Regions from separate parts of the Homo sapiens genome. Here regions 1, 3, 4, 5, 6 and 7 are each linked to region 2. The links are contacts of gene promoters, found by promoter capture Hi-C in blood cells and fetal thymus (Javierre and others, 2016). All regions are on one chromosome and are shown on one strand. The core of a region is centred on a gene start or on the middle of the fragment in contact, and the rest is flanking DNA. Distances in the headings are between cores, read along the strand shown. Region 1 has its middle 120 kb from the start of SLC28A3-AS1. Region 2 holds the start of QNG1 (Q-nucleotide N-glycosylase 1). Region 3 overlaps UBQLN1-AS1 (UBQLN1 antisense RNA 1). Region 4 has its middle 69 kb from the start of SLC28A3-AS1. Region 5 has its middle 140 kb from the start of RMI1. Region 6 has its middle 120 kb from the start of RMI1. Region 7 overlaps LOC124902191 (a long non-coding RNA gene).

Region 1 (3,483 bases), core at 894-3,393, 200 kb after region 2:
GTGGCTGGGGAGGTGCTTCGAAAACCGTAAGTGAGGTTCTATCCTCTAACCTCTTCTAGGACCCCCTCACCCAACTATTAAATACCAAGCTCCCAAATCACAAATAGCTTATGTTCCCTCTTTGGATTGGAAGAATAGGACTTGCTACTGAGGAGAGATATGTCAGTGAAATGGGGAACATCAGGAACAGGGGCTGATTCTCTCTGACAGAGTCTAGGTTCTAACGCTTCGTGTCAAACCGGAAATCCATCTGAAGCAGAAGGATATTCCCCTATGGAAATAGAACATGTCCCCACTTAGGTGGAGCAAGGCCTGGGACTGTATATCAAATCAAATGTTGGAAGAGAGAAAATAATTCAGATCCCCCCCAAAAAAGCTGCACATAGATCCAGCTGGCCATTCACCTCCACTCCCAGGAGAGCAGGTAACGGAAACATGGACACAGTCTCCTCAAACTCTAGCTCAGAGGTGAACACAATGTGGTCTCCAATACAATGGGAAGAGAGCTGATAAGAATTTACCCACACCACATCAGAGCAAGCCCTGGGCAAACATACCACGCTCCCCCCAAAATAAGAGAGGATGAAAGGAATATAACATTGAACACCCAGAGAATCGAGTCTGTAAGAAACCATAGCTCACGGAATAGAGAGATTTATTCAATAAAAGAGCTTAATAAGATCACAAATTCAACAAAACAAGAACTCAGAAATGAGATGCTGGGACATTAGAACAGGAAGAAGAAGAAGTGATGGAAAACCTAAAGAAAGAAACTGAAGAACAAATCAATACCATTATAGACCTGACACTTACATCTGATGTATCAGGGAATAGAACAGACACGGCAATAAACTGAATTACCGACAGAGAAAGGGCCTGAAATAATCACAATGCTTGCAGAGGAAAACAAGAGTGAAACATTTAAGAGAAATTAGATACATATTGAAGGCAGACAAAGATAATCAAACATTTAAGAATAATTGGTGGACTTAGAGGACACAGCCCAACAAATGAAGTGTGCAGACTCTTCAAAGACATAAGAGGAAGAAAGTTTCCTGAACAAGGTTCAAAGAAAAATGGCTACAGAGTGGCTGACACTGAACTATGTCTTAGTTAAGTTGTCTGCTTCAAGGATGGAGAATAAATTGCTCATGGATCCAGGTAGAAAATGCAAGTCATTTACAAGGAAGAGAAAAATCAGGCCAGAGATGTTTCCACAGCAACACTGCATTCCAGAAAAAAATCTGTTGTAATGTCTAAGAAAGAATTGTGAACCCCCAAAATGTTATACTGAGGCAAGTTATCATTCAAGTGTAATGGCCAAAGATTTTTTCAGAGACAGAAGAACTGAATTCTACTTGAAAAAGTATGTGACGATGAAATCTAGCCATGGAAGATGTAAATATGGGAACCCAGCAAAAGAACAGCCATAGCGAAGGGCCTGGTGAACTTGGAATCCATTTAATCACAGAATGACATTAAACAAATATGGGAATTATGGTTATAAAGATGGATGTAAATGTTATAATCTTGATCATAGAGAAATAGTCTGAAAAAAATGAGAAATGGGAAGTGTAAGAGTAATCACTTTTTTCAACACTCATTGCTGAGGCAATTGATATTTTCTATGGGATTCACTTTTATTTAAAAAAAAATGAAGCGTCTGATGTTTTGGGTCTTTTTGTATTTTTTCTCTTTAAGCTTTTAGTAAATAATTTTCCTGTGGCTAAAAAAATCCCCTTCAGTTTTAATTTAATTTTTTCTGATTAACTGAAGAAAATTTTAAGTTAATATTTTAAATAAATAGCATCTAGGCTGGGTGTGGTGGCTCACACTTGTAATCTCAGCACGTTGGGAGACTGAGGTGGGTGAATCGTTTGAGGCCAGGAGTTCAAGACCAGCCTGGAAAACATGGTGAAACCCCGTCTCTACTAAAAATACAAAAATTAGCCGGGTGTGGTGGCATGTGCTTGTATTCCCAGCTTCTTGGGAGGCTGAGGCACAAGAATCACTTGAACCCACCAGGTGAAGGTTGCAGTGAGCCTCGAGATCATGCCACTGTACTTCAGCCTGGGTGGTAGTGTGAGACTCTGTCTCCAAAAATAAATAAATAAAATAAATAAATAAATAAATGGCATTTCTATTATGACTTCATTTGTGTGAAATTATGTCCATTTAGGCATTCATACATTCTTCTACTAATACACAAACACACACACACACACACACACACAGAATAATACTCACCAAATGTTAGTTTTTTCTGAATGGTAAGTTTTTTTGTTGACTTTTTAAAAACTCATCTTACTTGAATTTATTACAATGAGCAGATTTCTTTATTATCAAACACTTAAGACATTAAAAACATTATGGAGAATAATTTGATGAATTCCTGTGTATCCACTACCCAACTTAAGGAAACACATGCATTACAAAAAAAACCTTTGGAGTTTATTATTTTTGTATGTGTGTATGTCTTTTTTTTATGGAGTAACTTTTCTTCTGAAATAAGTTTCTTCTCAATTTCCTTCCTTTTGTAAAGAGTCTTAGAGTTAGATTAACAGAATAAAGGTAATAAGAAATGAAAAAGCTTTATTCTCTGCTAGTGGGAGGATTAGAATAAAAAGGAGAAAACTCCTGTATTCTGACAGCAGCAGAGGAAAACCTTTGGAATGGGTTCTTTTGGTTGATCCTAAATTCAGATGCTTGTCCTCACTGATTGTAAATGATCCAGGGTTAGAGTTTATGGTCAAGTGAAAGAACACAGGACATATCTGAAACATTAAGTCTTCATGGCTAACATGGCATTTCCAAAGTAAAAGGCTCAGTTAATTTCTCTTTCTTTCTTGGCCCTCTTCCTTATGGCAGCAAAGAGGGCTATAGGACAAGATATGGTGCTGTTTGTCATTCTCTGGCATTTACTGAAAAGTTGGCCATCCTAGACTTGGGACGCCTTTCTGTGTTCTGAATATCATGTACACAATTCCAGGTCTGGACTTGAAATTTGTTGGTGAGCTTTTGGTTACCTGTTCAGTTCACCTGTTTGTTTCTGGAGCACCCTCTGAGTAGATAATCCTATTACCATTTCTTTTAGCAAATTGAGAGACATGAGTTCAAGTAGATATATAAATAGTAGCTCTCCTCTCATGAACTCACCCAAACATCTATTTGTTTGTTCACTCAGCAAATATTTACAATCCAGAATGGAAAGTGAAGACCTGGAAAAAGCATGTTTCATTTAATCAAGACGTGAGAATTAGAATCTCATTTTAAAAAATTATCATCCTCTGAAAGGACTGGACTTTTTTTTATATCATTTAAAAAATTTCATCCAACAAACACTTTACCAGTTCTCACTGATATTCTGGAGGTGAGGTACCCTACTGATTTCTCTGTCTAGATTCAACCAGAAGTGGAATCCTTGTGTCTGGGCAGTTTCCTTGTATAACCTCAGATTACAGTTGTGCCCTTGCCTGGCGGTAG
Region 2 (3,185 bases), core at 596-3,095:
AAAAAAAAGGAAAGAAATGACGCCAGCGTGGTGGTTCACGCCTGTAATCACAACACTTTGGGAGGCTGAGGCGACCAGATTACCTGAGGTCGGGAGTTTGAGACCAGCCTGGCCAACATAGTGAAACCCCGTCTCTACTAAAAATACATAAAATTAGCCGGGCTTGGTGGCGCATCCCTGTAATCCAAGCTACTCGGGAGGCTGAGGCAGGAGAATCGCTTGAACCCGGGAGGCAGAGGTTGCGGTGAGCCAAGATCACGCCACTGCACTCCAGCCTGCGCAACAAGAGCAAAACTCTGTCTCAAACAAACAAACAAAAGAAAACATAAGAAATGACTTTGAAACACTACTTGATTTTGTTAGTTTCTTCCACAAGGAATACATTTAAAAATTTAAGTTTTTATTCTTAAAATGAGTTCTGGAAGTAAAAGAGTTAACTCTGAGATGATTAAGACTTCTAAAATCCCCAACAGAAGCAACTCACCTCAAACAGAGTCACATCTCTGTAAGAAGGAAAACTTTCAACCACCAGGTGCATTAACTTCTGCGCACTATTCTCACTTTCTCGGACGCAGTTGAGAAAAGAGCCTCCAAACTTCTCCAGCAGAATTTTCCCGGTTTCATTGAGAATCCGATGCCTCTCTTCTACTAAAGGCATGGAAACGTCTGTGTCAGAACGAAGTATATTCCGAACCTGATCCAGGGTCACTGTCGCGTAGTACGAGGCACTAGTTATTGGTATCCCTTTAGTGAAAAAATAAAATTCAGAGGACCAATGTCATACTTCCATATGCATTAAACCCTTGCTTTTACAACATGGAATTAATATGAAACCAAATGAGTGGTATAGGAATGCACCAAAAGTGGAAGAATAAAAAATCTAAAGCAAAACTCATTTTCTACTTGTTCATCTGTACTTATTCACCCATTTCTAACTATTGCAATATTACATCAGATGTATTCTGAGTAAATTGCTTTATAACATCGGTCCTTTTGTTCTTCAGGTGTCATTCAAATGGCATTCTTTATAAAACTGACTTTTATGCTACTGTAACTTTTATGCTGCAATGATAAATATTAACATCATTTTCCACTAAAATATGCCCCTTTTCATACTTCTATTTTAAGCATAAGGACTTGCAACGAACTTCAGGTTCGCTTTCCATTATTCCATCTCCCAACCCGCTCCTTGGAACTCCCCTACACACACCCCAAGTAAATGGAAACCTCAAAGGCCGTTAGGTCCGATGGCAAGTATGGCACCAACCTTCGTCGAGGGCTCTGTTGACGGCGGCGCACAGGGACCAGTACCCACTGTATGTTTTCCCTCTGTACCTCACCACACACTTGTGCTCGTCCTGCTCCGACCAAAAGGAGAAGTTGAGCGTGTCTGTCACGAACACCCAGTTGACCGCGGCCTCGTCGGCCGCCCTGGGGTTCAGCTCATGAAGGGCTTTCCACCCCTCCACGCGCAGCTCTGGCCCCGCCGCCTTGGCCAGCAGCAGCTCTGCCACCCTCCGTACGCCTCCGCTGTCAATAAACACATCCCGACTGTTTTCTGCAATGAATTTAGAGGATTCCCTGGGATTTAGGAGCCCGTCCATTCTGCCCTTTGGGACCCGGCGGGCCAAACTCTTCCCGCCCTAGGCGGGTCAAGGTCCACTCTGCGCCTTGCGCTACTACGAACCGCGCGATCACAGGGCCTAAACAAGGTCCCGCCCTGCCAGGGAGTGGCACCGAGAACTTAGTGCAGCCAAGGTAAAGGTTCTCTCCCGCGGCGTTGCCCTGATTAGGAAACCAGAGAGACCCCGGGGCAGCTCGCTGGGCAGAGGCCGCAAGCACTTCCGGGAAAGCGGTCCCGTTCACGCCCTCTCGGGCGCGCTCTCAGGCTCCGCTTCCGGTTCCAAAGGTCTGGAAACTGCTAAGGGTCCGGCGTTCACCGGCCGTGAGTTGCCCACCCTGGGAGGTGCATGGCTTTGCCATGTTTTGCCTTTTCTCACCCCGCTTCGGACAGGTGGGACTCGAAGACGGCGACTCGCCGCCTTGCCCTGGGTCGCGATGCCCCCACCCCGCTCCCACCCCTCTCCTTTCCCGCAGCCTGAGCAAGACGCCTTCGGCAACGCCCCGCATCCGGGCTCCTTGGCCTCGAAGAGCATTATGGCCGTAGATCTGGGTGCTGAGGACTGAGCCACCCCCAGACTGCGACATGGGCGGCGGTGCCTCCTTCCCCAAGCCCCAGGGAGTGTTTTTTTGTTTGTTTTGTTTTTTGTTTTTGTTTAAGTGAATTCCTGGCCCATTTGGCCGAACGAACGTTAGGATTAGTTGGAAGGTTTGGAGAAATGGATGAGGAAACAAATGTGTTAAATTGTTAAATTAACCTTGTGTGCCTGGCAGTGTACTTAAGTACTAAATCTCACCTAGGCTGGGTCATGACGAAAGCGGCTATTGTGATCCCGCTTTTGCAAGTGAAGCTGAGTGGTTCATTGATTAACCCCCATCACAGCAATGGTTTGGGCTAGGATTTAAACCTTTGATAATTGAGCCCCCTAAATCGAGGGCACTTTATGAGCCAATCACCAGTGCCAACCATTCTGGTCAGTCAAATAGTGACTATATCAGTGGCCCTACTGAGAAGACATTAAAAATGAGGAAATAAGTGTCTCACAACTGCAAACTTACACAAGTACCTTATATTAGGAGAGAGGTGTAGAAGCCAATTTAGTGATGATCCAAATTTGACTGGTGATGAAGTTTTAGTATAAAGGTATGCATTTTTTTTCCTTTTGGAGACTTAAATCTCCATGGATAACGTTCACATCTTTGAAAATCACCTATTAAAAATAATCATCAGTACCCATCTCTAGTTACCGACAGGAAAATCTTGGTATTTTTGGAGGATTCGGAGCTTTTAAATTTGTTTGTTTGAGACAGAATCTCACCCTGTCGCCCAGGCTGGAGTGCAGTGGCATGATCTCAGCTCACTGCAACCTCCACCTCCCCGGTTCAAGTGATTCTCCCTGCCTCAGCTTCCCAAGTAGCTGGGATTATAGGTGTCAGCCACCACACCTGACTAATTTTTGTATTTTTAGTAGAGATGGGGTTTCCCTATGTGGGCCAGGCTGGTCTCAAACTCCTGACCTCAGGTAATCCACCCTCCTCGGCCTCCCAAATGGAGCTTTTTTTTT
Region 3 (3,211 bases), core at 85-2,584, 250 kb before region 2:
TTTACCTGTAAGAAGATACCATATAGTTATCCATTGTTATGGCACTTTTTAGATATAATCCTGACCTGCATGAGAATCGGAGGTGGGGGCACTATGGTGTAAATCAGAGATTAGTGAACTTTCTGGGAGGGCTAGATAGTAAATATTTGGTTGGTGCCAAAAAAAAAAATTTGCAAAAACCGCAATTATTTATGCATCAACCTAATATTTTAGGCTTTGTGAGCCACAGGATCTCGGTCTAAAACACTAAGCTATGCCCTTGTATCACAGAGTAATCATAGACAATACATACATGAATAATCATAGCTATGTTTACTAAAAACTCTACTTGCAAAACAAAAACAGACATAGGATCTGATTTGGCCTACAGAAGATAGTTTGCCAACCCCAGGTCTAGATGTTTATTTGTGGCATTTTCTTCTGAATGGTTTTTGTTTGTTAAATGGTCTGTCTGGAGAAAATTTTAAGAACATATTTTATCACAGTATCCTAATACTGTATAATACTATATTGAGCATACAAGAATAATAAGACTCAGTTTCTGCCGTCAAAAAACTTGAAGTGATAGTTGGATGATGGGGGTGAGGGATAGGAGGGAGACTGGCAGTGATGTCCTGGTAAATGACTAATAACCAGTCCTCCTGAAAATAAACTTTATTACATTTGCCAATTTCCTTGATGTAAATACTTGCAAATGGTTACCAACTTGAGATCCTCTGCCTCACAAAACACGTGAAATTTTACCAGTAAGCCCTCACAAGCCAGTATGAGCCAGCTCCAACTGAAGAAGTCCCATTTTGAGAAAATCCATTATTCAGAGTTCAAGTATATTGATAGAAGGTTATTATTCACGATAGAATAATTCTTTTTTGACAAAATGATTCAGTCAACTCAATAAGAATTCATTGAGTATCCTCTGACAAACTTTAATCCTCTAATCTTGTGTCCAGGAACATACCTTTAATACGAGGTAGTACATATGTCATGTAAGTGCTATAAATAACATGACTTCATCATGTTACTAGGCTACTGAAAAATCTATCATAAGTTTCCCACTGCCTAGAAAATAAAGCCAAAGCTTTTTATTTTTTTTGGAGACAGTTTTTTTCTGTCGCCCAGGCTGGAGGGTAATGGCATGATCTCGGCCTACTGCAACCTCCGCCTCCTGGGTTCAAGCGATTCTCCTGCCTCAGCCTCCTGAGTAGCTGGGATTACAGGCATGCACCACCACGCCCAGCTAATTTTTGTATTTTTAGTAGAAACAGAGTTTGACCATGTTGGCCAGGCTGGTCTCAAACTCCTGACCTCAGGTGATCCACCCACCTCAGCCTCCCAAAGTGCTGGGATTACAGGTGTGAGCCACTGCGCCCAGCCCAGAGCTTCCTAACTAGGCCTTCCACAGGTAACTCCTAGTGTTGACTCCTGTTGCTCTCAATATATATGCTCCATTCCAGTCAAATACCTTTATTATCATCCCTAGAAGCACTTATACATTATACTTTTCTTAACTTCTGATCATTCCTTCAAGTCATTACACCCACCTCCTTGTACCCATTATTGCTACCTGCTTTCTGAAACTCCTTGAATACCCAAGCTTACAGAATCTGACCTTCCGTCATAATTACCTGCACATTTCACTTGACCATTCATCACTTGTAGCACAGCTTCTATTATCTGAAACTTTCTCCTGCTACCAGTCTAGTTTACACCCTCATGAGCTCTGGCCTAGATTACAGCAATAACCTCCTACAGATTCCTCTGCCTCAATCTAAAGTCTCCATCCTCAACTCTTATTTTCCTGTGATGCCATATGTTATCCTAGAACGAAGCTTTGATTATGACACCTGCTTGAAAATTTCCAGTCACTGTCACCAAAGTGTTAAGAGTAATGTCTAAACTTTGTGGCATGGTGTCCAGGGTCTTCTGTAAACCAAAGACCTTGCTCTTCACTCATATCTTATCCTCAACCAAACTGGTCAGCTAAGCTCTCCAAGCATGTCTTGCACTTTCCAGCTTCAACTGCAAGTAGAAATTCTTCCCCCTTATTTTGACCCCATCATTTTACCCATCCCGCAAGACTCAAATGTGACATTCCCTAATAACCCTTTTTGGATCCGAAATAGTCTTTAAATCCTCTGTATTCCCATATAGCTTTATTACTTTTTGATGTCACTTACCACATTCTGTCTTGTATCATATGTCTGTGCATATCTCATTTATTAGATAAAGGCCTTGAAAACAGGGATCAAGTCTTAATCATCATTTATACCAGAGGTCCCCAACCCCTGGGCCATGGACCAGTACCAGTCTGTGGCCTGTTAGGAACTGGGCTACACAGCAGGAGGTGGTGAGTGACAGGCAAGCAAGCATTACTGCCTGAGCTCCACCTCCCATCAGATCAGCAGCAGCAGCGGCATTAGATTCTGTTAGGAGAGTGATCACTATTGTGAACTGGGCATGTGAGGGATCTAGGTTGTGTGCTCCTTAAGAGAATCTAATGCCTGATGATCTGAGATGGAAGAGTTTCATCCCAAAACCATCTCCCCCTGACCCCCAGTCCATGGAAAAATTGTCTTCCACAAAACCGGTCCCTGGTGCCAAAAAGGTTGGGGAACTGCTGGTCGGTACAAAAGTAATTGTGGTTTTTGCACTGTTGGAATTTGTCATTTGATATTGGAATACATTCTTAAATAAATGTGGTTATGTTATACATCATTTTAATGTGCATTTCTTTTTTTTTTTTTTTTGCTAATGACATTGCTGTTTGTTTTATATTTATTTTAGACTATGGAAATGATGTTAGACAAAAAGCAAATTCGAGCAATTTTCTTATTCAAGTTCAAAATGGGTCATAAAGCAGCGGAGACAACTCACAACATCAGCAACACATTTGGCCCAGGAACTGCTAATGAACGCACAGTGCAGTGGTGGTTCAAGAAGTTTCACAAAGGAGAGGAGAGCCTTGAAGATGAGGAGCATAGTGGCCAGCCATCGGAAGTTGACAGTGACCAATTGAGAGCAATCATCGAAGCTGATCCTCTTATAACTACACCTGAAGTTGCTGAAGAACTCAACATTGACCATTCTACAGTCGTTCGGCATTTGAAGCAAATTGGAAAGGTGAAAAAGCTTGGTAAGTGGGTGCCTTGTGAACTAAGCGAAAAACAAAAAAATTGTCGTTTTGAAGTGTCATCTTCTCTTATTCTACGCA
Region 4 (3,541 bases), core at 468-2,967, 250 kb after region 2:
ATAAGACCCCTTTTAAACCTTACGGCTTGGTTTCTGCATTCAATGATGGGAAGTCAGAGGAGTCCATTTTGGGGAGCAGAATGGTACAGCAGAAAACAGCAGCTGGAAAGAGGAAGATCCAGGGACCCCCCGGGAGCCACCACCGGCAGCCAGAGCCTCCCCAGTAGCTGAGGCTGCAGTGAGCCATGAAAACAGCATCCTGACAAGCGAAATGATTCCTTGGGATTCCCAGAAATGCTGGTGAAGAGGAAGCTGGTAGAAGAACTGGACTTCCTCAGGCCGAGTCAGTGGGAACCCGAGGCACCATCACTTTTTAATCACAAAGAAATGTGACTTTATTATGACACTTAAAACTAATGAAGCCTGGACATCTGGGCTGTATAATGTAAGGAACTGAGGCTTGGTTACTGTGTGGTTCATTGCTGCTCATTATGCTGTCAGACGAATGGGAATGAGGCCACACTCGGCTTGAAAATTGCCAGTAAACTCTGATGGAGAGGAACATTCTGCTTTCATTCTGTAAAATTAGAGACACAATGTAACACTCGCCGTCTAATTAGCTACAAAACATTGACATCAGTGTTCATGCTCTGCATATCAATACATGTTGCTCCGTTTGTGCATTTACACCATCTTCCTGATTACCAAATACCTTAGCAAATGGGACAGCAGATGTTTCCTCTCACAACTTCAACGTGGCATCTGCTCAAATCATTTGTCTCCTCCATCCCATTCAATTGCTAAGCCCCTATATTTTTCCTGACATCTGGGGGCTGGCTCTTTGCCTGTTCAACTAAGTTGGGTAACATTGAGTGCTTTCCTGCACTAAGTTGGTATTTAAGGGGAAGAGCTGAAAAATCACGTCTGCAGGCTTTCTAATCTGGTAAATGTTAATTTTACCCATACCTACCTCGGAATGATTTTCTCTGGGTCATGGAAATCTTTTATTTTTTATTTACTTATTTCTATTTGCTAGTTTAATAATGAACAGATATTATTGATATAATAACAATTTTTAAAAATGTAAGACTGATCATTCAGGAAATTTTAGTCAGATGCTACTTTCTAAGTCTTCCATTTCATTATTTTTTGTTTGTTTTTATTTGATACATAATACTTGTACATGTTTATGGTATACAGGGTGATGTTTCAATACATGTATACACTATGCAATGATCCAATCATGGTATTTAGTATATCCGTCACCTCAAACATTTATCATTTCTTTGTGGTGAGAGCATTCAGAATCCTCTCTTCTAGTTACTTTGAATCCATTAGGAATTCCATTCATAACAAGGTGGAGAGAGATGGGTGGATGGTATGGTAGTTTATCTCCAAGATGAATACTGTTAAGTTCTTTCTTTCCCTACAAGCCATTCTTCACTGAGAGGTGGAACTTATTCCACCACCTTAATGAATCTAGGCTGGCCCGTGACTTGCTCTTGACCAATAGAATATGGTGGAACTGACATAGTTTAACCTCCAAATCATAAGAAGCCTTGCAGCTTCTGTTGGGTCTCCTGGAATATTCCCTCTTGGGGAAATGCACGGACCACCTACTACCAGTCCAACTACTTTGAGACCACCATACTGCATAGGAAACCCAGCCTAGCCATGTGGAGAGGATGCTTGAGGATAGATGCTCAAGCAGCCCCCAGCTTTTCCAGCCTATACATGAGACATGAGAGTGGAGAAACCTTCTGATATGGTTTGGATATTTGCCTCCTCAAAATCTCATGTTGAAATGTGATCCCAATGTTGAATGTGGGAGATGTTGGGTCATGGGGGTGGATCCCTCATGAATGGCTATGAATATTATATATAATATATAATTATGTAATATATATAATATATATTATATACTCTATTTTATATATACTATATATAAATACTCCAATCTATTTTTTATACATATAAAAATATATATATATAAAATATATATATATACAATAGATTGGAGAAATCAAGGTAGGCTTCAAGTTCACAAGGGGCTGTTAGTGTAATGTTGTTTGAAGAAATACTGAAAGCTACCCAAAAGCATCTCCTTCTACCAGCCTGAAGTCCCCATTAATCCTTTTTCATCTCAACTTACCTAGGAAGAGCAGTACATAAATCTCCTGGGAACCTGGCAAGGCCTGGACTAGTCTGTCTGGGAGATCAGCTTGCTGAACCCTAAAGGGGAGTCCTGAAAGAGTGGATCAGAGACAGCTTTTTGAGGTCACTAAGAAAGGTCCAGGCACATGTGAAATGCCAATGTGAAGGAATCTGGGTAGCATGAGGCTGGGGCCTAGGACAACTCTGAAGACAAACTTCTCTCCCCTCCTAATTCTGCACAGAACTAGTCTTACATGAAGCTATTGTCAATTATTTTGGGTGCATCTTCTATATCCTAAGCACAATGGTCAGTACTTTACATAGATTATGATCTCTTTAACCCTCCCATGACCCTATATGTCAGACAGTTTTGACAGTGAAAGGGACACTGTTAATAATTATTCTTTTAATTATTCTAATCATTATAAAAATATTCTATATGCCAGGACCGTCCTAGGCCCACCTGGGCATATGATCACCCCTACCTGTGAACAAGTGTAGTTCCTTCCCTGATAGTACACCTGAGTAAACTGAGGCTTAGGATGTGAAGCCACTTGCTGAAGGTCACACAGCTGGTAAGTGGTGGAGGAGGATTTGATCCAAATAGTCTGGCTCCTGAGTCTATACTCTCTGCCACTACAGCTAACTATTGACATAGCTATTGTTTAATGCAAAAGTCAGTCTGGCAAGCTGAATTTGGCTCATAGATTCTGTTTTGGTTGACATTCATTATTTTTTTAGAAATTGAGCTTAGGCCAGGTGTGGTGGCTTATGCCTGTAAACCCAGCACTTTGAGAGGCTGAGACGGGTGGATCACGAGGTCAGGAGATTGAGACCATGCTGGCCAATATGGTGAAACCCCGTCTCTACTAAAAATACAAAAATTAGCTGGGCGTAGTCCCAGCTACTCAGGAGGCTGAGGCAGGAGAATCGCTTGAACCCAGGAGGCAGAGGTTGCAGTGAGCAGATATCATGCCACTGCACTCCAGCCTGGGTGATAGAGTGAGATTCCATCTTGAAACAAAAAAAAATGAGCTTAAATGCCTTTGGGTTGAGGCCTATCTGTTTCAGTTCACCTTATAATTTCCCTTGGCCCACTTGTCTTTTTTTCATAAGTGTAATCCCTGGAGGCATTTGATTTGGTAGCTCCTAAAGTAATACATTTCTAGCATCCTATGGTATCCCATTCTTTCTGCTTTCTGCCCACAGCCTTCTTTCATCCATTGACCTCTCCAGTCTCTTGTGTATGATACCATCAATCTCATATCCCCGTTTTCTCCACTCCTCTCTGACCTTCGTGGAAAAGCCTGCATATGGGTGAGCTTCTCACTTCTGTCCCAGTGTACCTATATATACAAAAGTCTCCAAGTGTAGCTGGTTATAATTTCCATTTCATGTGGTCACTCTAAAACCACTGAGTTTACAACATCCAGTAATCACTTGGAAA
Region 5 (3,266 bases), core at 453-2,952, 160 kb after region 2:
ATGATTTCTTCTTGGTCATTAACATCCTTTTCTTTAAGATTGAAGAACTTCCTTTAGCATTTCTTTCAGGACAAGTCTGTTGTTGATGAAATCCCTCAGCTTTTGTTTGTCTGGGAAGATCTTCATATCTCCTTCATGTTTGAAGGATAATTTTGCTGAATATACTATTCTAGGATAAATGTTTTTTCCCTTCAGCACTTTAAATATGTCATGCCACTATCTCTCGGCCTGTAAGGTTTCCACAGAGAAGGCTGCTGCCAGACATATTCGAGCTCCTTTGTAGGTTATTTGTTTCTTTTCTCTTGCCGTGTTTAGGATCCTTCTTTATCTTTGACATTTGGAAGTATTAAATGTCTTGAGGCAGTCTTATTTGGATTAAACCTACTTGGTGTTCTATCACCTCCTTATACTTGAATATCCATATCTGTCTCTAGGTTTAGGAAGTTCTCTGTTATTATCTCTTTCAATAAACCTTCTACCCAGATCTCTCTCTCTACCTCCTCCTCAAGGAGGCTATTGAGGCTATTTTTTTTAGATCTTGTAGGCATGCTTTATTCTTTTTTTTCTTTTGTCTCCTCTGACTGTGTATTTTCAAATAGCCTGTCTTCAAGCTCACTAATTCTTCTGCTTGATCAATTCTGCTGTTTAGAGACTCTGATGCGTTTTTCAGTATGTCAATTGCATTTTTCAACTCCAGAATTTCTGCTTGATTGTTTTATTTTAATCTCTTTGTTAAGTTTATCTGATAGAATTCTGACTACCCTTCTCTGTGTTATCTTAGATTTAATTGAGCTTCCTCAAAACAGCTATTTTGAATTTTCTATCTGAAAGGTATCAGATCTCTGTCTTGCTGGTGCCTTATTTAGTTCATTTGGTAAGGTCATGGTTTCCTCGATGGTCTTGATGCTTGAGAATATTTGTTGGTGTCTGGGCATTGATGAGTTACGTACTTATTGTAAATTTTGCAGTCTGGGCTTGTTTGCACCCGTTCTTTTTTGGGAAAGCTTTCCAGATATTTAAGAGAATGTGTAGGTTGTGATCTAAATCTTTGGTCACTGCAGCCATATTTGTTTAACAGGGCACTCCAAGCCCAGTAATGCTGTGGTTCTTGCAGGCTTGTAGAGATACCACCTTGGTGGTCTTGGTTAAGATCTAGGAGAATTCTTTTGATTACGAGGCAGAGACTCTTATTCTCTCCTCTTATTTTCCCCCAAACAAATGGAGTCTCTCTCTGCTGAGCTATTCTCTCTGTGTGAATATTGGCTTTACAATTGGCTTTACATACTGAATATACATTCAGTAGAAATAGTGCTTCACATTTTGATTTTTGATCTTTTCTTGGACTAGTAATATGTAGTATGATACTATCTTGTGATGGCAGGGAGTGACAATGAGCCACAGCCCCCAGCCAGACACATGATCACCACTGTAAATCACCAACAATCTACAGTATTCTGTGTTTCCAGATGATTTTGCTCAACTGTAGGCTAATGTAAGTGTTCTGAGCATGTTTGACATAGGCTAGGCTAAGCTATGGTGTTCGGTAGGTTGAGTATATCAAGTACATTTTTGACTTACAATATTTTCAATTTACTTATGCTGGGTAAAACACCATCATAAGTACGGTAGCGTTTATGTGGATTTAACGAAGCAGCCTAAAGAAATCTATAGAACTCATCACAAATATCTCTAAGTAATTAACTCAATTGTGGACAAAAAAGTAGATATGTAAATTATTTTTTACCCATAACTTGGTAAAGTTTTCAAGCCTGGAATGTTAGATGTGTCTCAGCCCACTTTTCTCTTCTTGTCTGGGCTGATTTTCTTCCTAAGCATTTCATGTCCTCTGTGTTCTGCAAGCCCAGCTGTCTGCTCTCTCTCTTTTTTTTTTTTTTTTTTTTTTGAGATGGAGTGTCACTCTCTCACCCAGGCTGGAGTGCAGTGACACAATCTTGGCTCACTGCAACCTCCGCCTCCCAGGTTCAAATGATTCTTCTACCTCAGCCTCCTGAGTAGCTGGGATTACAGGCACGTGCCACCACACCCGGCTAATTTTTGTATTTTTAGTAGAGACGGGGTTTCACCATATTGGCCAGGCTGGTCTTGAACTCCTGACCTCAGGTGATCCGTCCACCTCGGCCTCCCAAAGTGCTGGGATTATAGGCGTGAGCCACCGCACCTGGCCCTGTCCTCTCTTTTTTAATTTCTCTGTGCTGTTACCCAGTTTGCAAGGGTATCCTTTTCAAGTAAGTCATGTCAAGTTACTTCTGTTTCTTCTAGAACTTGCTGCTCTTGCTCTCATGTCTTAGGAGCTCACTTTATTTTCTCCTTGGTTTTTCTTATGGCTTGTTCAACTCAGTCTGGCTGTACCCAGCACAGAGGCACATAACAGGCTGTTAATAAAGCTTGGTGATTAAATGCATTGAATAAATGCATGAACACTCTTACTTCAGGCTGCAGTCTTTCTCCTTGGTCTACACTGGGTCTTTCTCTGGTTTATTTATCTTTTCAATTGAAGTCAGGTTACTAGACTGTTTAAACAACAATAAAGATACTGTTGATAAAATTTGTCAAGAAATGCAAGATATTAGAATTTTATAGATAACAGCATATATCCCATTTTTATATTACAGCAGGTTTAACCTTTGTATGAGTTTTTTTTTGTTTTTCAAACATTTGTCATTTGTGAGGCCTGTTGCTCAAAATACAAACACAGTTCAATTCCACAGGGTGTCAGGTGGGTTCATATTTGTCAGAAGAAAGTACACACCCACAAGCATTTTAACTTTTAAAGTAAATGCCCAACTTAACCAGCAAAGAATTATACATTTTATTGGAAGTGAGGTCATTATGTTGGGTGAGATCAGATGCAGTTTATCTCCGCACAGCTTCCTGTGAGCTCCAACATTCCTAATGGGATAGGTCTATTAAGGAACATGCTGGGAGGCAGGGATATGGTTCCTGTGAGTTAGGGTCTTAACAAGCTCAAAAAGTTCCATTCTTGTTTTGCCACTTCCTTTTTATTCTCAGAAACTATACTCTTAACTTATGGGCTTCTTCTTTCATGAAATTTACAAACATTAGGTTCTCCTAATTCTTTTTTTTTTTTTTGAGAGAAGTTTCGCTCTTGTTGCCCAGGGTGGAGTGCAATGGTGCAATCTCAGCTCACTGCAACCTCTGCCTCCCGGGTTCAAGTGATTCTCCTGCCTTAGCCTCCCAAGTAGCTGGGATTACAGGTACCCACCACCACACCCAGTTAATTTTTG
Region 6 (3,308 bases), core at 363-2,862, 140 kb after region 2:
GGGGCCCAGCGTGGTGGCTCATGCTTGTAATCTCAGCACTTTGGGAGGCTGAGGTGGGCAGATCACCTGAGGTCAGAAGTTTGAGACCAGCCTGGCCAACATGGTGAAATGCTGTCTCTACTAAAAAATATAAAAATTAGCTGGGTGTGGTAGCGTGTTGCCTGTAATTTCAGCTACTTGGGAGGCTGAGCCAGCAGGATCGCTTGAACCTGGGAGGCAGAGGTTGCAGTGACCCGAGATGGTGCCACTGCACTCCGTCTCAAAGGAAAAAAAAAATACTGTTTTGGTCTTCTCCCCACCCTTAAAGTGGAAGCACCCTGTAAACATGCATCCTTCATTAAGCAAACATGTTTTTTTTTTAAATATCTTTTCTTTATAAATTACCCAGGCTTAGGTATTTCTTTATTGCAATGCAAGAACAGACTAACACATAAAGTAATAATTTCACCTAATGTGATGAAACTAACACGAAGCAACTATCCTGCATACAACTGAAAATGCAGTAATCCCTTCCCCAGAATTTGGCTTTCAGGATTTCAATCTTTATATTTAGGGTCTTGTTTTTTGGGATTATGATAGGCACCAGGTTTCATAAGTACAGTCTCAATACACTTGAATGAGATGAGGCAAATGAATTTGACCTAAAGGGAATTATTTAGCCTGAAAGGAACCATTGCAGCTGGGTGTGATGGCTCACACCTGTAATCCTAGCACTTTGGGAGGCCAAAGTCGGAGGATCACTTGAGTTCAGGAGTTAGAGACCAGCCTGGGCAATATGGCGAAACCCTGTCTCCACAAAAAGTACAAAGACTAGCTGGATGTGGTGGCACAGGCCTGTAGTCCCACTACTCTGGAGGCTGAGGTGGGAGGGTCACCTGAACCTGGGAGGCCAACGTTGCAGTGAGCTGAAATTGTACCACTGCACTCCAGATGGACAAGAGAGTAAAACCCTATCTAAAAACAAACAAACAAACAAAAACAACAGCACACAAAAAACCATTTACTGCCACATTGCTGAGGGGTAAATTTGACTTCTCCCAGTGGGAAGTGTCAACCTTTTTCCCTTCATGTACTACCAGACCGCTCCATTCCTTATTTTGGGGAAAAAAAAAAAAAAAAAAAAAGATTAACAGTGGATTTTACTTTCTACACCTTTGATTATTATTTTACCTATAATATAATATGTACTCTGTAGCATGTTATAACATTCCTACTACTCTGTTTTTATTTAGAAACAAGCATTTTTTAAGGTTTTAACTTTTACCAGGCTTACCCTAATGATGCATTCAGCAAACCTTATGGGCCATCTACTCCATTCCAAGTACTTGCAGTAGGAAGGATGGTGAACATACCACAGAAAAGACACATCCCTGGGAGTTTCTGTATTTCAGTTTGATAATAATTTACCTGAGGAAACTCTGGCTGAGACTCACATGTCTTAGGAGATTCGTAAAAAATAAAAGTACAGAATTTTTTTTCTTCTTTGATATGAATTTCAATATGGATTTTATTTAAAGAGGCTTTCCTGTTTCTTTTGGGAAGGGCATACAGCAATGGAGCCCCTGTGGTTTTCAGAAAACTTGCCTGCTTGCTGTTGAAAGTCTGACACAAAGTAAAAGAACTGTGCTGGGACTACTGGTGAACAGGGAGCTATTTGTGATAGAGAAAACATGGTATTTTTCCTCTGGTAAGATGTACATTTATTAGAGCATTTATCAAATAATTTGGCTTTTCAATACATTATCAGAAATTAGTGAGATTGGTTATGAACTTAATTATGCTTTTCTAAAAAATGTTTTTAGCCTGCTCTCAAACATTTTGAAGTGGACCCTTATTAGAGTTACCAAATTGTATGAAAGCACATTGCCCTCAGCACATAAGGGTCACAGGTGGAATGTAGCAGGGTTGAAATGAAGGATAATGGAAAAATCCACTACTTGTGTTTGCTACTTAAATGTCATGGCTGGGTAAATGGATTTCTCTACTTCCTAGGACTCGGCTTCTACTACATTAGTCTGGCAGCAATTAGAGAGAAGAGGTTGCTCTGCAAATTGGCTTGGCGAACCATGTAGTTCATCTTTTTATTGTGCAAAACAGAAAAAATTGCTTCTAATCAATCCACTTCAACTTTCAGTCTAAAAATTATTTACCATCCTATCAACTGAAAGTACTAGAGAAATGTTCTATTCGAATTAACTGAAGGGAAGAATCATTTGTATCAATCCTTGATTACGATTATGGGGGAAGCAATAAAGAGATTACATCATACTATGATGGAATATTGAAGGAATAAAGAGACTGCATCATTATTGAGGTGTCCTTGCCAAATTGATTAATGCTTTTAGGATAATTAATCTATATTTCAAATATAATTGAACTCATTAGCAAAATCAGAAATGTACAATTTAATGACTCTAATGCTCGAAAAGAGATAGATTTTCCGCTCAAAGAGAACATTATTAATTTTGAACTTTTCACAGTCTTTGCCTTTGATTCATATGGTTGATCAATCCCTCTGCTTTTTAACTGCCCTAGGATGTAACATTTGAGGTGCTTAGATAAAAGTTTATTATTCTTAATTTTCTCAGAACATAGATTAACAGAGAACTGATGTGATGTACAGGGAAATTTTACTAATTTCCACTTTGCTCATCAGCACAGTCAATGGCTTTAAAAAGTGAATGAATAAATCACACTTCTAGATGATTTAAGTATAATAATTAGTTTGAGACAGTGCAAATTACAAAAGTAGACTCCTTTAAGCTGTGCCTTAACACAGCTGGCTTCATTAGGAAAACAACTAGGACCAGCAGCCAGGTCCGCCCAGAGGAAGAGAAGAGAAAGGATGAGTAGAGGAGGGGTCTGGTGGCAAGTTCTAATGAGATTTAGGGTGTTACAGGCTAAGAAACACTGGCCTCATTTGAGGAAAAGAAACCTCACCCACAGCTTCAAACCAGGTAAATATTGTTCTGCTTCTCAGAAACCAAAGATTTCCTGGTGCAACAGGAGTCCAAATTTCTGAACAAAGAATCTTAGTAGAGATCAACAAAAAGTCTGTTGAAACCAACATTTTTTGATGAGTTCTAATTCTTCTCATTAGCTAAACCAAAATAATCTACATTAAAAATACTTAGTTCTGGCCGGGCGCAGTGGCTCAGGCCTGTAATCCCAGCACTTTGGGAGGCTGAGGTGGATAGATCATGAGGTCAGGAGATCAAGATCATCCTGGCTAACATGGTGAAACCCCGTCTCTACTAAAAATATAAAAATTGGCTGGGTGTGGTGGCGCATGCCTGTAATCCCAGCTA
Region 7 (3,338 bases), core at 110-2,609, 230 kb before region 2:
CAGCCCCCCGCCCGGCCAGCCGCCCCGTCCGGGAGGTGAGGGGCGCCTCTGCCCGGCCGCCTCTACTGGGAGGTGAGGAGCCCCTCTGCCCGGCCACCACCCCGTCTGGGAGGTGTACCCAACAGCTCATTGAGAACGGGCCATGATGACAATGGCGGTTTTGTGGAATAGAAAAGGGGGAAAGGTGGGGAAAAGATTGAGAAATCGGATGGTTGCCGTGTCTGTGTAGAAGGAGGTAGACACGGGAGACTTTTCATTTTGTTCTGTACTAAGAAAAATTCCTCTGCCTTGGGATCCTGTTGATCTGTGACCTTACCCCCAACCCTGTGCTCTCTGAAACATGTGCTGTGTCCACTCAGGGTTAAATGGATTAAGGGCGGTGCAAGATATGCTTTGTTAAACAGATGCTTGAAGGCAGCATGCTCGTTAAGAGTCATCACCACTCCCTAATCTCAAGTACCCAGGGACACAAACACTGCGGAAGGCCGCAGGGTCCTCTGCCTAGGAAAACCAGAGACCTCTGTTCACTTGTTTATCTGCTGACCTTCCCTCCACTATTGTCCTATGACCCTGCCAAATCCCCCTCTGCGAGAAACACCCAAGAATGATCAATTAAAAAAAAAAAAAAATTAAAAAAAAAAAAGCTAAAAACAAAACAAAACAAAAAAAAACCACTTTGCAACACAGCTTTCTGTTTGCTTAGCAATTACTACAGAGCACACTGCTTTTCATGAAAGGAATTGGTCAGAACTGTTTATAAGAATTACCACAAATGTTTATATATTTATATTATAAAGAATTAGTTGACAATTTCATAAAATTTCTCTTCAACAATTTAAAAAAAAAAAGAAAAAAGCAACTAAAATTTTTCAGCACAAATATTGTTTTTTCAACCTCAAAAGAGGCTGTTTCCCCTATGAAACTGTGAATTTAAAAAAATCAGTACAAAAATACATCTAAGTGAACAGTGTAATTAGAATGTTATTCTAAATATAGGCTGAATTTGATAATTAAATGAAAACTTTACAGGCAGGCTGGACTGGGCTTAGACCTATTTTTGTAGGAGTTTAGACTCTGTAAAATATCTTACACAACAACTAGCCATTTTTTTTTTAGAAGGCTGTATCTTAAAATTCACTGCTAAGCAAGCCAGTACAATGCAAGGGAGGAAGGGAGAGAGGAAAGAAGAGGAAAAAGGAAGAGAAAGAGGAGGAGGAGCAGGAGAGAGAGTATGCTTTCAAAAGGAGTAGCTTTTCTGCAAAGTAGAAGCCAAATCTCTTAGGTTCAGTGTACTAAACACACACGTTCAGCCATTGTGAAAAGCAATTTGGCGATTTCTCAAGGAACTCAAAGCAGAATTACCTCTCAACCCAGCGATTCCATTATTGGGCATATACCCAAAGGAAAATAAATCATTCTACCATAAAGACACATGCATGTGTATGTTCATCACAGCATCACAGCACTATTCACAACAACAAAGACATGGAATCAACCAAAATGCCCATCAACGGTGGACTGGATAAAGAAAATGTTGTACACAAACACCATAGAATACTGTGCAGCCAAAAAAAGAACAAGATCACATCATTTATAGCTACATAGATGGAGCCAGAGGCCAGTATCCTAGTGAACTAACACGGGAACAGAAAAGCAAATACCACATGTTCTCACTTACAAGTGAGAGCTAAACTTTTGAGTACATACGGACACAAAGAATGGAATAACAGACACCAATGCCTACTTGAAGGTGGAGGGAGGGAGAAGGGTGAAGATCAAACAACTACCTATCAGTTACTATGCTTATTACCCGGGTGGAGAAATAATCTGTACACTAAACCCCCGTGATATGCAATTTACATATATAACAAACCTGTACATGTACCCCTGACCCTAAAATAAAAGTTAAAAAAAAGAATAAAAGAAATAGATCACAAGGCACAAAAGTAAAAGTGGGTGAGGCTGGGTGAAGTGGCTTACATCTGTAATCCCAGTACTTCAGGAGGCCAAGGCTGTAATCCCAGTACTTCAGGAGGCCAGTACTCCTTGAGCCCAGGAGTTTGAGACCAGCCTGATCAACAAAACAAGACCGCCACCTCTACAAAAAAGAAGAAGAAACAAGGAGGAGAAAAAGGAGAAAGAGGAGGAGAAGGGGAAGAAAAAGGAAGAGGAGGAAGAAAACATAGCCTTTATTGAAATGCAGAAGTTATTTTTGTCTTGTTTGGTGTTGGACCATTAAATCTATTTTACCACTTCATACACTGCCTCTATCCCAACATGCTCCAAAAGATAAGTGCAAATCTTTATGAATTATATGACCAGTATTGTAAGTCTAAGTCTTAGAATGAAGAGACTGAGGCAAAGGACAACTAAATTGCTATCATCGGGTAAATGGTCAACACAGCCAAAACATAGTCTGGGTTTTCTGGATTTCCATCCCATTTTCCTTCATTAGACATTAACTCACTAAAGGCCACTGCATCTCACAAGCATGTAGTATCTACATCTCACTTTAGAAGGGCTATTATAAAGTTTTCCATTTGATGGAAAAGCTGGATAAATAATACTTCTGTATCCCTGATTAATACAAGAGCAATAAAACTGTAAACGTCTTTAATTATTTATTTATTTATTTATTTATTTTGAGACAGAGTCTCGCTCTATCGTCCAGGCTGGAGTGCAGTGGCGCAATCTCGGCTCACTGCAAGCTCTGCCTCCCGGGTTCACGCCATTCTCCTGCCTCAGCCTCCCGAGTAGCTGGGACTACAGGCGCCCGCCACCATGCCCGGCTAATTTTTTGTATTTTTAGTAGAGACGGGGTTTCATTGTGTTAGCCAGGATGGTCTCGATCTCCTGACCTCGTGATCTGTCCGCCTCTGCCTCCCAAAGTGCTGGGATTACAGGCGTGAGCCACCGCGCCCATGTAAAGGCCTTTATTAAATAGCTTCAGGGAGCTGGGACAAAGAGAAAAAAACTTTACATCAAATACTAAACACAGTCACCCCAAATTTCATGATATTCCAAATAGAGAAACTGCCTCCATGTTTTCACCTCCAAAGAACAGAGGACAGTTTTATTTTCTCCTAAATGGAGCAGTTGGAAGTAGAACTCAACTGCTGAGCAAACTGCCTAAAAAGGAGACTATTTCAGTAATTTTTCTTTTTCATATTAGCAACAAAATGGGAGGGGCATGGTCTAAGGCAGGCCAAATTGTGTTTATTCTTCCATTTTTTTCTACATTTCAATTTATTCTTTTCTGAGTTTTACACCAATTATCTTGTTAGAGATGCATATTTGTTTTAGTCCTAAGAAATACTTGACTGCCTTGACAGAGCTGT

What was found. The method cuts DNA at HindIII sites, captures the fragments that hold promoters and counts their contacts. A CHiCAGO score of 5 or more calls a contact.
Region 1: a fragment that was not itself captured here is called in contact with the fragment with the promoter of QNG1 in region 2 in 8 of 17 cell types (total CD4 T cells, total CD8 T cells, non-activated CD4 T cells and 5 more); the score reaches 10.2 in total CD4 T cells.
Region 3: a fragment that was not itself captured here is called in contact with the fragment with the promoter of QNG1 in region 2 in 1 of 17 cell types (non-activated CD4 T cells); the score reaches 5.9 in non-activated CD4 T cells.
Region 4: a fragment that was not itself captured here is called in contact with the fragment with the promoter of QNG1 in region 2 in 6 of 17 cell types (neutrophils, naive CD8 T cells, total CD4 T cells and 3 more); the score reaches 7.4 in neutrophils.
Region 5: a fragment that was not itself captured here is called in contact with the fragment with the promoter of QNG1 in region 2 in 1 of 17 cell types (total CD4 T cells); the score reaches 5.2 in total CD4 T cells.
Region 6: a contact is called between a fragment that was not itself captured here and the fragment with the promoter of QNG1 in region 2, in 3 of 17 cell types (neutrophils, naive CD8 T cells and total CD4 T cells). The highest score is 5.2, in neutrophils.
Region 7: a contact is called between a fragment that was not itself captured here and the fragment with the promoter of QNG1 in region 2, in 1 of 17 cell types (naive CD8 T cells). The highest score is 5.3, in naive CD8 T cells.

The regions. Positions count from the first base shown.
Region 1 is chr9:84,154,659-84,158,141 of GRCh38, forward strand. No RefSeq gene overlaps it. Among named protein-coding and RNA genes, the nearest start is that of SLC28A3-AS1, 120 kb to the right of the region's middle. The HindIII fragment of the contact is 889 bases long and covers 1,700-2,588 here.
Region 2 is chr9:83,954,897-83,958,081 of GRCh38, forward strand. It overlaps QNG1 (Q-nucleotide N-glycosylase 1), which reads right to left and starts at 1,846. Exons shown (of 4, transcript NM_032307.5): 1 at 1,268-1,846; 2 at 485-744. The coding sequence starts at 1,604. The HindIII fragment of the contact is 8,080 bases long and covers 1-3,185 here.
Region 3 is chr9:83,709,714-83,712,924 of GRCh38, forward strand. UBQLN1-AS1 (UBQLN1 antisense RNA 1) reads left to right here. Exons shown (of 2, transcript NR_135839.1): 2 at 2,785-3,211. Among named protein-coding and RNA genes, the nearest start is that of UBQLN1, 3.4 kb to the left of the region's middle. The HindIII fragment of the contact is 516 bases long and covers 1,077-1,592 here.
Region 4 is chr9:84,207,164-84,210,704 of GRCh38, forward strand. No RefSeq gene overlaps it. Among named protein-coding and RNA genes, the nearest start is that of SLC28A3-AS1, 69 kb to the right of the region's middle. The HindIII fragment of the contact is 7,346 bases long and covers 1-3,541 here.
Region 5 is chr9:84,116,804-84,120,069 of GRCh38, forward strand. No RefSeq gene overlaps it. Among named protein-coding and RNA genes, the nearest start is that of RMI1, 140 kb to the left of the region's middle. The HindIII fragment of the contact is 1,401 bases long and covers 1,003-2,403 here.
Region 6 is chr9:84,096,864-84,100,171 of GRCh38, forward strand. No RefSeq gene overlaps it. Among named protein-coding and RNA genes, the nearest start is that of RMI1, 120 kb to the left of the region's middle. The HindIII fragment of the contact is 4,368 bases long and covers 1-3,308 here.
Region 7 is chr9:83,728,764-83,732,101 of GRCh38, forward strand. The region is part of intron 1 of LOC124902191 (a long non-coding RNA gene); the gene reads right to left. Among named protein-coding and RNA genes, the nearest start is that of UBQLN1, 22 kb to the left of the region's middle. The HindIII fragment of the contact is 3,988 bases long and covers 1-3,338 here.